Regions from separate parts of the Homo sapiens genome. Here all the other regions are linked to region 1. The links are contacts of gene promoters, found by promoter capture Hi-C in blood cells and fetal thymus (Javierre and others, 2016). All regions are on one chromosome and are shown on one strand. The core of a region is centred on a gene start or on the middle of the fragment in contact, and the rest is flanking DNA. Distances in the headings are between cores, read along the strand shown.

Region 1 (2,720 bases), core at 121-2,620:
ATGGAACACAATCCTTGTACATTACTGCCGTTTTGAAAACGTACTGCTTTCGGCTGGGCACGGTGGCTCACGCCTGTAATCCCAGAACTTTGGGAGGCCGAGGCAGGCGGATCACGAGGTCAGGAGATCGAGACCATCCTGGCTAACACGGTGAAACCCCGTCTCTACTAAAAATACAAAAAATTAGCCGGGCGTGGTGGCGGGCCCCTGTATCCCAGCTACTCGGGAGGCTGAGGCAGGAGAATGGCGTGAACCCGGGAGGCGGAGCTTGCAGTGAGCCAAGATCGCACCACTGCACTCCAGCCTGGGCTACAGAGAGAGACTCCGTCTCAAAAAAGCAAAACAAAACAAACAAACAAAAACAAAAACAAAAACAAAAAACAAAGATTTCTAAGGCAGTATTGAAGTCAAATGAAGTGTAAGTAGGAGAAAACAAGCTAAATCATTCAGCTGGTGAATTAATATTTACAGCGGTATGCTTCTGGATAGACAAGTCCCACAAATTCATAAATAAATACTTTTTTTTTACCCTAATTACTGGTCTTTTACATCAGTTAATTTAACACTTATTTCCAGGGCTAAATTGTCATTTAAAAACACGAAATCAATTACTGAGTTCCAAATATCCAAGCAAATCCATCAGCCATTTATAAATTAAATTGTTTTTAGGAAAAACTTAAGAGAAATACATTTGCTTTGCTCTATTTGTCAGAGGTTGCCATTGCAGTCCAGAAGGAAAAAAAAAATCAGTGCAACATGAGGAAGTCTTACGAATCTTTGTAAAATGTTTGTAGTAGATGAGAAAGGGAAATGAAAGTTAAAAAGAAAGGCAACAACAATGGGTACTTGAAAGGTAACGTTTTACATTTGCCTAATGGCATACTTATTTGAATGCATTAAACACACAGTACTTAAAAAGCAGAGGTATAGGTTAGAAAGTCATTAGAAACCGTGACACATATCCAATCCTGGAACTTTACCCCGTCCAGAGAGAAAAGAAACGCTGGCCCGAACCCCACGATCAGGCCCCAGCCTTTTCCAATCTCTCGGAAACAGATCAAGCTATAAGCAATTCAATCGTTGCTAAAGAGACACGCCGGAAGCCGCCGCTGGTCTCCGGGCTCCCGGCCACGCAATTCATGGTCACCTCCTGGTGCGCGTGGTCCCTCCAGGTCACCCAGCGCCTCCATCCCCGGTGCGTGGACTCCGGCGCCCCAGCTCCCGGCTTCAAGCCACGTCCTTGGACTCGACCTCCAAGGAGCCACTGGCACTCTGGCGGGCGGCCGCTGCTCAGCTGGAACCTGGCATCCCCGACTCCCTGCAGGCAGCGATCCGCCCGGCCCGGAGCTCCCCAAAGCCTTCCAGGACTCTGGGTCCCCGGGAGGAGGCCGGGGGCGGGGCAGGGGTGGAGCAAGGCTCCTTTTTTTTTTGTTTTGCGCCCCCCCCCCGCCTCATTATCTTAATCCACCACCTCAGCTGCTATATCATGGTGTCCTTTTTCATTCTGTGACAGAGAGTGAAAAAAGATGAGTCTATATTCCATACAGCTGTACCCCCCTCAATCTTAAAATAAGTTCAATTTATTCCTACGAAACGAAAGAAAGGAAGCTTATGTAGACACAGAAAAGGCAGGGAGTACCTCAACTGAAAGACACAAAAGTGAATTAGAAAATTAGGTTATACAGGAACTTTGAAAGAGTGAATTATTTTTCACAGTGGGTAAATGCGGTAGTGTTCGTAATTACTGAAGCCAGACACTATTGAACCGGAAATGAATTAACCTATGTGAAGCACCTGGAGTCGAAAAATATTTGCAAGAATACTAATGAATATCGAGGAAGCATGGCGAAGTGGCTAGGAGTGCGACCTCTGGAGGCAGGTGCCAGGGATTCAAGCCAGGGCACTTGCTGGCAGTGTGTAACTTTGGATGACAAGGTCAGTTTCTCTACCTGTACAACTGAGATTATAATGTTTATCTCGTAGGGCGGCTGTGAGCATTGGCGATAAAGTGTGTTAGTAGTTAGCACATGAACATGATGGCTGCTACCTTACTCTCACACTCACAGTTTTCTTGCATAAAAAATAGGTTTCACTTATTTTCACCGTATTTACTATTTGGGAAGTGTTAAAGCTCGAGGACTGGCTGGACACGGTGGCTCATGCCTGTAATCCCAGCAGTTTGGGAGGCCGAGGTGGGCAGCTCACCTGAGGTCAGGAGTTCTAGACCAGCCCGGCCAACATGGTGAAACCCTGTCTCTACTATAAAAATACAAAAAAATCAGCCAGGCGTGGTGGCAGGCACCTGTAATCCCAGCTACTAGGGAGGCTGAGGCAGGAGAATCGTTTGAACCTGGGAGGCGGAGGTTACAGTGAGCCAAGATCCAAAAGAATTGTGTGAGGGTAGCTTTATCGACTGAGAATCTGCCTCAGATCCACTGTACAAGGTCAGTTCCAGTACACAGTATGGCTGATAGTAAGTTTGTAATTACTGTGCCACCTCATTCCAGCCTGGGTGAAAAAGCGAAACTCTGTCTCAAATAAATAAATAAAGTTTAAGGACTGGGAAATTCTTGTTTTGAAGCCAAAGCAAAACAAAAGACTGAGTTACCACTTTGTGCCAGGCATTATGAATTTAAAGAGGAATGAGCCCCATCCAGACTCTGCCCTCAAGTAGCACACCTTCTAGCAGATGAAATTCACACTAATTAATAATCTACTAT
Region 2 (2,720 bases), core at 90-2,589, 1.3 Mb after region 1:
ACCTAACACAAGCCAAAATCATGTAAGTCCTCTCACACCCTCTACTGACATGCCCCACAGTTCCCCATACACAGCATGGTATGGTATTTCACTTCTCCTTTGTTATGAAAAGTCAATAAAACCACCCTTGTTTAGTTACCAGTGTGCTCCCGGTAGCCTTTGGCTAGAGGGCATTGACACAACTCAGATAACTTTTTTCCTCAATAATGTGTATAGTTTTTGCTGTTTCAACTGCTTGAGTTTTTCTTGGGGAACTCTTAACTTCATATCACAGATGTCTATTCTCTAATATCTTCTCTTCATTATGAAAAGGCTTTTATACATCATAACTGATTTTTATCCAATTTCAAGTCTGCTCTTTATTGCTTCAAATGTGGATTTTTAATTTGATTTCTGCATTTTGAAATTCATTTAAAATATTTCATAATCTTTCTACTTTCATTGTCTTAGTGCACTTTTGAAATCTGTTCAGTCTTTTGTCTTATAACTTGCTGGTCTTATTTTACATAGGAATATCATTTTGAATCCTCTCGAAAATTTCAAAGCATTTTTTTAACCTCTCAATTTTTCTTCTGGATTCTATAATCATTTTTATATATTTTTTTAGAGGGTTTTGTTTGTTTGCTTGCTTTTGGTGGGGGCGGGGGGGTTCCAATATCTGGAATCTCTTCTTTGGTTCGGTAATACATTTTCAAAATCTCCCATGCTTTTTGTTTATGTGTAGTATCACAGATTACTGTTAGAAAGTATTCACCTCTATGGAGAAATATACTCAACTAAGCCAGCCTAGATCAACCAATCCCTACCTGACTCAAACATTTATAAGAATAAATATTTATTGTTGTATGTCCCTAAGATCATGAGATAGGCCTTGGGGAAAAACCTATGCCTTGCTATGCATCGTCTGCTAATGGATACACTATGTTTTCTTATTTCTTTGCCTATTCATAGTCCCATGAGGGGTTACCTAACAGACCTGGAATTTGCCAGAGCGTGGATGATGTTTTTGGTTTTACTGTCTGACAATTGGATGCGGGTTAAATGTTCTCTTTAGGTCTATAACTGTTTAATAGGTTAGTATACTCAGCTCCTAGCCCAAATTCTAGCAGCTAACCAATTGCTTACATCTAGCTTTGTTCTGTGGAACCAATGGGATTGTATTTTACCTCTTCTACTATTTCTCTGACACTGAACACAAAGAGAATATGAAAAGTGATTCCTTACAGAGCTGGCACTTTCTGCTTAGAGTACTTTACTTAGGAGATTACATAGCCCAAGATTCAATGCATTCTCTACTAGTTCAATTGTCTTCTGGGAGTTGCAGTCACAGCAGGGAGGAAGAGATGCCTGAGTTTTTTTGTTTTCATTTTTCCTTCCAGTCCAGTCCTTGCATTTCTGGAGCAGGGGTAGACGGTTTGGGAGGTATTAAGGCTGTTCAGTTTCCTGTGTCACAGCACAGGCTGGGCATTTCAACCCAGGCCATTCCTGAGAGTTAAGAAACATTTCTCTTAGGGTCTAGAATATTACCAGTCTTGATTTTCAGTGCTGCAAGTTTTTATATATTTCTCTTTTCCTCAGAATTTTATTTTTTATTTATTTATTTTTTTTCAATAGGAGGTCTCAGATTGAAACCCTGAGTCCATGCACCATTGCTCCCATGCCTGCCACTTGTCAACCCTCCTGTGTAACTGGCTCTGTTGGATACTCTTTTCCCAAGAATTTTAATAAGAAGTAGGAAGAGGATGGGTCAGAGACTCCTCACGGGTTGCCATCTTAAATAATGGAATAAAAATGAATACAGCTATGTAACTAGAATATATGTGGCTTATAGGAAGGGAATAATTTTCCATTTCTTACCTAATTTATAGCAGAGTACTAGACACATAGTAATTGTTCAGTAAATCTTTTTGATGGATCAAATCAGTTTCATCTAAACCATAGACAATCCCTTATTATCCAAATGGCATTTTTTGGCAACCAAAAAATAAATTTTACACCCATTTCCAAGGTAAAACTATCATGCTATAAGATATCAAGTTACTTGATATTTATTCATTTGATGTAAATTAGAACCAAACTCATATGCTTTTTTTTCTTTTTTTTTTTTTTTTTTGTTTTGAGATGGAGTCTCGCTCTATCTCCCAGGCTGGAGTGCAGTGGTACAATCTCAGCTCACTGCAACCTCTGCCTCCTGGGTTCAAGCAATTCTCCTGTCTCAGCCTCCTGAGTAGCTGGGACTACAGGCACATGCCACCATGCCCGGGTAATTTTTGTATTTTTTAGTAGAGACAGGGTTTTGCCATGTTGCGCAGGCTGGTCTCTAACTCCTGGCCTCAGGTGATCTGCTGGCCTCGGCCTCCCAAAGTGCTGGGATTACAGGCGTGAGCCACCACACCCAGCCCCAAACTCATGCATTTATTATGAAGATTAAATAAGAGTATTGCTTACAGTAGTCAGTATAATGTCACTATAACAGTAAGTATGTCTTACAGTTAATAAACATGAGCTTTTATTATAAGCCTCTTAGAATGTAAGTTCCTTCAAGGCAGGACTTTGACAGTTTTCATCAACCCTATAGCCCTAATATCTTAGTGCTTGGTATGCGTTTATTGAAAAAAATAAATTAGGAATGAATGAGTAAATGAACAAATTAAGTCACACAGAGCCAAACTTTCTGCCATCCACTTTGGAAAATTGTCTACTGGTTCTTATTATTTGTG
Region 3 (2,720 bases), core at 93-2,592, 1.2 Mb after region 1:
AGAATTAGGAATTAGAAAGCAATGAAGGGATGGGTGTTTCAGGGAAATGATTAGGGAGGGCCTCTCTTCAGGAGGTGACATCTGGTAAGAGACCTGAATGAAGTGAGAATATTGAGGGGATAATATTCCAAATGAAAGCAACAGCTACTGCAAAGCTTCTGAAGCATGAACAGATTTGGTGTGTGTGAAGAACCATGCAAGTTCCAGTTATATGACTGGGGTGGAATGAGAGTTGAATTGTTTATATACTTGGAGTACATTGATTTCAAGTATATAGAGTGAGAGATTTCTATACACCTTGTATTTTTAATTAATCAAATGTCTTTTTGGATTAATATGTTCTTTGTGTTTGGTATTGTACTTGATTTCAGAATGGTAGATTTGGAGAGCAGTTATTGCAGTCTTGGATAAGCTTGGAGAGTAGTATTTGGACATTAATATGACTATATAGAACAGAACCTTATGTGAAAAATAATGCTTATGAGGTAATCAGATTTTTTTTCCCCCCAGAAAGTATTAATGAAGCTTAGAAAACCTAGAATTACAGCTACAATTTGGTCCTCAGGAAAAATTATTTGCACTGGAGCAACAAGGTAAATGCTACTTGGGTTTTTTGTTTTTATTTTTTACTTTTTCCCTCATGGAAAGGACATTTTCCTAGACTTAACAGCAAAATCATATGTAAAGTTTGTTATGTTCCTCAGTATAACATTTATTTCCTGTGTAACTGATAATCTTTTTCTTTCCTTAAAACCGTAGTGAAGAAGAAGCTAAATTTGGTGCCAGACGCTTAGCCCGTAGTCTGCAGAAACTAGGTTTTCAGGTAACGTTTTCAAATAGTATCTAAACTACAAATATTCAAGGACTTATTTTTATAGAATTAAAAATTGTAATAGACTCAAGAAATCACTATGCGTACTATTCTTATGATTAAACTTTTTCTAGGTTTTTTAATACTGCCCTTCAGTGTGAAAATTAGTAGCAAAATTTGGCTATGTGGGTATTTGTAAAGGATCCTAGCTTTTTCCCTAATTCCTTTCCCATAAAGAGACTTGTTTCCTCACAAGTTAATTTCCTTTTCAACTCTTTTTTAAGTGTTTTCACCTCTGACGTACACAAACAAAATGGTTTTTGGTCATCTCAAGAATGCCAGGTCAGAATGGTGAATAGAGAATGGCAGAGGCCGTTGACATGGACACACCAGCTGGCAGGCTCTCACACTTGTAACGTGACTGTCACTGGCATGTCAGCCTCATCACTATAACTTGATAGAGGTATACCTTTGAATAAAACGATTACATATTATGGACTTGCTAGGTCACTTGCAAATGATGAATAAATGAAAGATAAAGATGAGAATGGTCCCTGAAGATGAGGGCAAGGCTGTTTGGGATTGAGACAAGTTTGTAGAAGTGGGGATAGGAAGTTACCTTTCCCTCTGATGACTCAGTCTCTCTGAAGTAGAGGGTGATAGGAAGAGACTGAACGGCTGGTGGGGAGTGGGGGTTGGTGCTTGAGAAGGGTGGCAGTAGAGAGAGGCTTGAGTTGTACTGTGATTTGAGAGTGCTGCCACTTTGCGGTTTCCTGGCTTTGCGCAACTGCTGTGTGCAAGGCTGAGTTGAAGGATAGTTCGCTCACCCAAAATTGTGGTTTTAGGAGGAATGTTTGAAAAGATAATGAGATGAAACGAAGATGTTGGTTGGAGTGGCCAAAGTTATTAATGTTAACAGCATTATTTTCAGCCTTGGAACTTCTTTTCTTAGTGTAACATTAGAAGTGTTGAGAGAAATCCCAATTAGTTAGAAACAAATTTATCACTCTATCCCCAGAAAGAAAATAAACATCTAGCTAATCTCACAGAAATGTCATTTTGCCTTATTGCATATGAGAAAAACATCTGACTTTTGGAGCCCAGTGTACACTCTGTATTTACTGACTTTAAAGTGACATCTTTTCCATTTTTACTCTAGCAGGATGACCTGGACTTAAATTTTTTTTCCCTCACTATTCTCTCTCCTTTCTCAGTAGTTTTAAATATTTCACTTAAAGTATTAAAAAATTAAACATATGATTAGAAAGACCCATACTGTTTTGATCATGCAAATACCTCAGTTTTTAATTTTTTTAATGGAGTTTTTGAGCTTTTTAAAAAACTGAATTAAAGCTTTCCATGCTACACAACTTACAGTACTAAACATACACTTAAAATGTTTTTGTTTTATCTTGTTTGCTCTTGTTTTTAAGGATTGCCATTATGAGCAGATTTTTTGTTTGTTTGTTTCAAAATAAATTTATTGAATTTTACTTCTCTCCTAAAGGTAATATTTACAGATTTTAAGGTTGTTAACGTTCTGGCAGTGTGTAACATGCCATTTGAAATCCGTTTGCCAGAATTCACAAAGAACAATAGACCTCATGCCAGGTAAGTCTTTGAAGCAATTTATCTTGAGAAATTACCAAATTTGAAATTACTAGTCAGGGTATAAATATTTATATTAATTGTGGCTTATTTTGTGTAGTTACGAACCTGAACTTCATCCTGCTGTGTGCTATCGGATAAAATCTCTAAGAGCTACATTACAGATTTTTTCAACAGGAAGTATCACAGTAACAGGTATTCTATGATATTGAAACCACACTTATCAATTATGGATTGAATGATACAAGATGCTCATACCAAGATAGAAATAATGTGTGATTTGTTCCTTTCAGTCACTTCT
Region 4 (2,720 bases), core at 98-2,597, 1.1 Mb after region 1:
GTTTTGTTTTTCTTTTTCTTTTTTTGAAATGGAATCTCACTCTGTCACCCAAGCTGGAGTGCTGTGGCTCCACTGCAACCTGGGTTCACTGCAACGTCCACCTCCCAGGTTCAAGTGATTCTGCTGCCTCAGCCTCCCAGGTAGCTGGGATTACAGATATGCGCCATCAAGCTCTGCTAATTTTTGTATTTCTAGTACAGATGTGGTTTCACCATGTTGGCCAAGCTGGTCTTGAACTCCTGACCTCAAGTGATCCACCCACCTCAGCCTCCCAAAGTGCTAGGATTACAGGCCTGAGCCACTGTGCCTGTCCTGTTTTGTTTTTCTTAATCAGTCAAGCTTGATAAGCTTGACTTTTAACTGGAGTATTTAGTTCATATACATTTAATGTAATTGTCTACATATTTGGGTTTTAATTTACCATCTTATGGTGTGCTATTTGTTCTACCTATTCAGTATATACTTTTCTCTTTTTTCTTGCTTCTTTCAACAAATTGTTTCTTATCATCCAATTTTTTCCCTTTACTGCTGGGAGATTGTGTAATTTGTTTCTATTCTTTTAGTAATTATCCTAGAATTACAACATGCATACTTAACCTTTACCCTTCATACAAGCTGCTTAGGATATTTGATTCCATTTGACCCTCTTCAACATATGTGATACTTGTAATTGCATTTTTTTCTATTTTTTAGATGCTATATTGTTGTTCTTTTACTCTTTCAGTGTATATTAACTTATTTATTCACCACTTTCTTTGTTCTTTATACCTTTTTATAGCTTACATTTTTTTTATCTGCCTAACGCACTTTTTTTATAACTTTCTTTAGTATGATTCTGCTTAGGAAAAACTACTAGTCTTCATTAGCCTGAAAATGTCTTTATTTCAGCCTCACTATTAAAATATTTTTCACTAGACATTAAGACTAGATAGTAATTTTCTCTCAGTAAGTGGAAGATCCCCCTCCATTGTCTTCTGATGTCTCTTGCTGCTGCTGAGCAGTCATGTCAGTTTCATATTTACTCCTTTGAAAGCAATTCATCACTTTTCTCTGATTGTTTTCACTATTTTCTTTTCTTTTTCTATTTTTTTTAGCTTTGCTCTTCAGCTGTTTCATTATGACAATTTTAGATATAGGTTTCTTCTTGTTTATTTTGCTTGAGACTCACTGGGTTGTCTTAACCTGTACATTAGTGTCTTTCATGTACATTAGTGTCTTTCATCACTTCCGTAAAATTCTCAGCCATTATCTCTTCAGATATTACCTTTGCCCCATTTCTCTCTCCTCTCCTTCCTAGATTCTGATGAGATGTATATTAATCTATTCTCCTCTGTTGTTTATTTCTTTTAATTCTTATTCTGTGTTTTCTTTTTGTCTCTCTGTTTCACTTTTAAATTATTGTTTTTCTGACCTAGCTCCTAGTTCACCAATTCTCTTTTCAACTGTATTTAGTCTGCCGTTAAAGTCATCAACTGGCTTTCAAGGTGGCCTAAAATGCATATTTACCTCCTTGCCCTTTCAAAATGCAATTAAATTGAAGAAATGTAAAAATAAAAATTATGTAAAAACATAAACATAAAAATTAATTCAGGCCAGGCATGGTGGCTTACACCTAGAGTCCCAGCACTTTGGGGGGCTGAGGTGGGTGGATCACCTGAGGTCAGGAGTTTGAGACCAGCCTAGCCAACATGGTGAAACCTCATCTCTACTAAAAATACAAAAAAAAAAAAAAAAATTAGCCAGGTGTGGTTGCGCATGCCTGTAATCCCAGTTACTTGGGAGACTGAGGCAGGAGAATCGCTTGAACCCAGGAGGTGGAGGTTGCAGTGAGCCAAGATTGTGCTATTGCACTCCAGCCTGGTGACAGAGTGAGACTCCGTCTCAAAGAAAAAAAAATTAATTCGTAGCAGCACTAAAAACCAGTATGGAGTGCCACCAGAAGACTAAAACAGTGGAGAATTTCTGAACCATATAAATTTATTTTATTCTTTGGTCCTTTTTTAAATATCTGCAACGTAATTTTTCCCGAAGATATTTCAAATTTATCTTTTATTTCATTAAATAATAACTATAGTTTTATTACCTGTTTTATAACCTGCTAAATCCAAATATTAAGTATTTGTGGTTCTATGGCCTTTGTTATTTCTGTTTGTTCTTGCTTATGTTGTCTTCTTTCCTCATGTGTCTGTTTAAACTTGACTACACATGTTCTGGTAATAGTACTTTAAAATGTATTTGTGGGAACTATCCTAGCCTAACAGGAATCCACCTTCCTATAGAGAGATATCTTTGTTTCTGCTAGGCACCTAAGGACACCATCAGTCTGAGACTACCTTAATCTAAGTTCAAAGCTTGAAATTCCCGGGACCGTCACCATGATGGAAACAACCAAAAGAGGATTTGTTTATTTCAGGTATATTCTTGCCCTAAGGACACAGCCCTTTCATTTCCTACCTCACTGTCAGGAGGATCTCCTTCCTGTTCAGCTTCCTGCTTTGTGCAATCCCTGGGCAATTGCCATACCTTTCACTCAGTGGGGACATCAAAACGAAAGTTCAAGTTGTCATTACCCCTACAAAGCATAAACACCTTCTACTGCTTATTTATCTCTCTTGGTTCTTTTTCGTTCCTAATTTTGGTCTTACAGTATCTTATTCTCTGTTCAGTATTTGCTTTTAAAAAGGATTTTAGATTTTTTCCCCAGCATTTTTAATAGTTTT

The links. Contacts are between HindIII fragments. The CHiCAGO score rates a contact against its expected background, and 5 or more counts as called.
Region 2: a contact is called between a fragment that was not itself captured here and the fragment with the promoter of SLC18B1 in region 1, in 1 of 17 cell types (naive CD8 T cells). The highest score is 7.3, in naive CD8 T cells.
Region 3: a contact is called between a fragment that was not itself captured here and the fragment with the promoter of SLC18B1 in region 1, in 4 of 17 cell types (activated CD4 T cells, M0 macrophages, naive CD8 T cells and 1 more). The highest score is 7.5, in activated CD4 T cells.
Region 4: a contact is called between a fragment that was not itself captured here and the fragment with the promoter of SLC18B1 in region 1, in 2 of 17 cell types (naive CD4 T cells and total CD4 T cells). The highest score is 6.6, in naive CD4 T cells.

The regions. Positions count from the first base shown.
Region 1 is chr6:132,797,267-132,799,986 of GRCh38, forward strand. SLC18B1 (solute carrier family 18 member B1) reads right to left here and starts at 1,371. Exons shown (of 14, transcript NM_052831.3): 1 at 1,148-1,371. The coding sequence starts at 1,190. RefSeq lists an enhancer at 1-157 and a silencer at 1,389-1,438. The HindIII fragment of the contact is 1,643 bases long and covers 1-1,606 here.
Region 2 is chr6:134,093,302-134,096,021 of GRCh38, forward strand. The region is part of intron 2 of LOC124901404 (a long non-coding RNA gene); the gene reads left to right. Among named protein-coding and RNA genes, the nearest start is that of SLC2A12, 42 kb to the left of the region's middle. RefSeq lists a silencer at 81-150. The HindIII fragment of the contact is 6,249 bases long and covers 1-2,720 here.
Region 3 is chr6:133,982,058-133,984,777 of GRCh38, forward strand. It overlaps TBPL1 (TATA-box binding protein like 1), which reads left to right. Exons shown (of 7, transcript NM_004865.4): 3 at 511-593; 4 at 760-823; 5 at 2,319-2,422; 6 at 2,520-2,614. Among named protein-coding and RNA genes, the nearest start is that of TBPL1, 30 kb to the left of the region's middle. RefSeq lists an enhancer at 1,408-1,577. The HindIII fragment of the contact is 1,639 bases long and covers 524-2,162 here.
Region 4 is chr6:133,937,529-133,940,248 of GRCh38, forward strand. No RefSeq gene overlaps it. Among named protein-coding and RNA genes, the nearest start is that of TBPL1, 14 kb to the right of the region's middle. The HindIII fragment of the contact is 2,003 bases long and covers 347-2,349 here.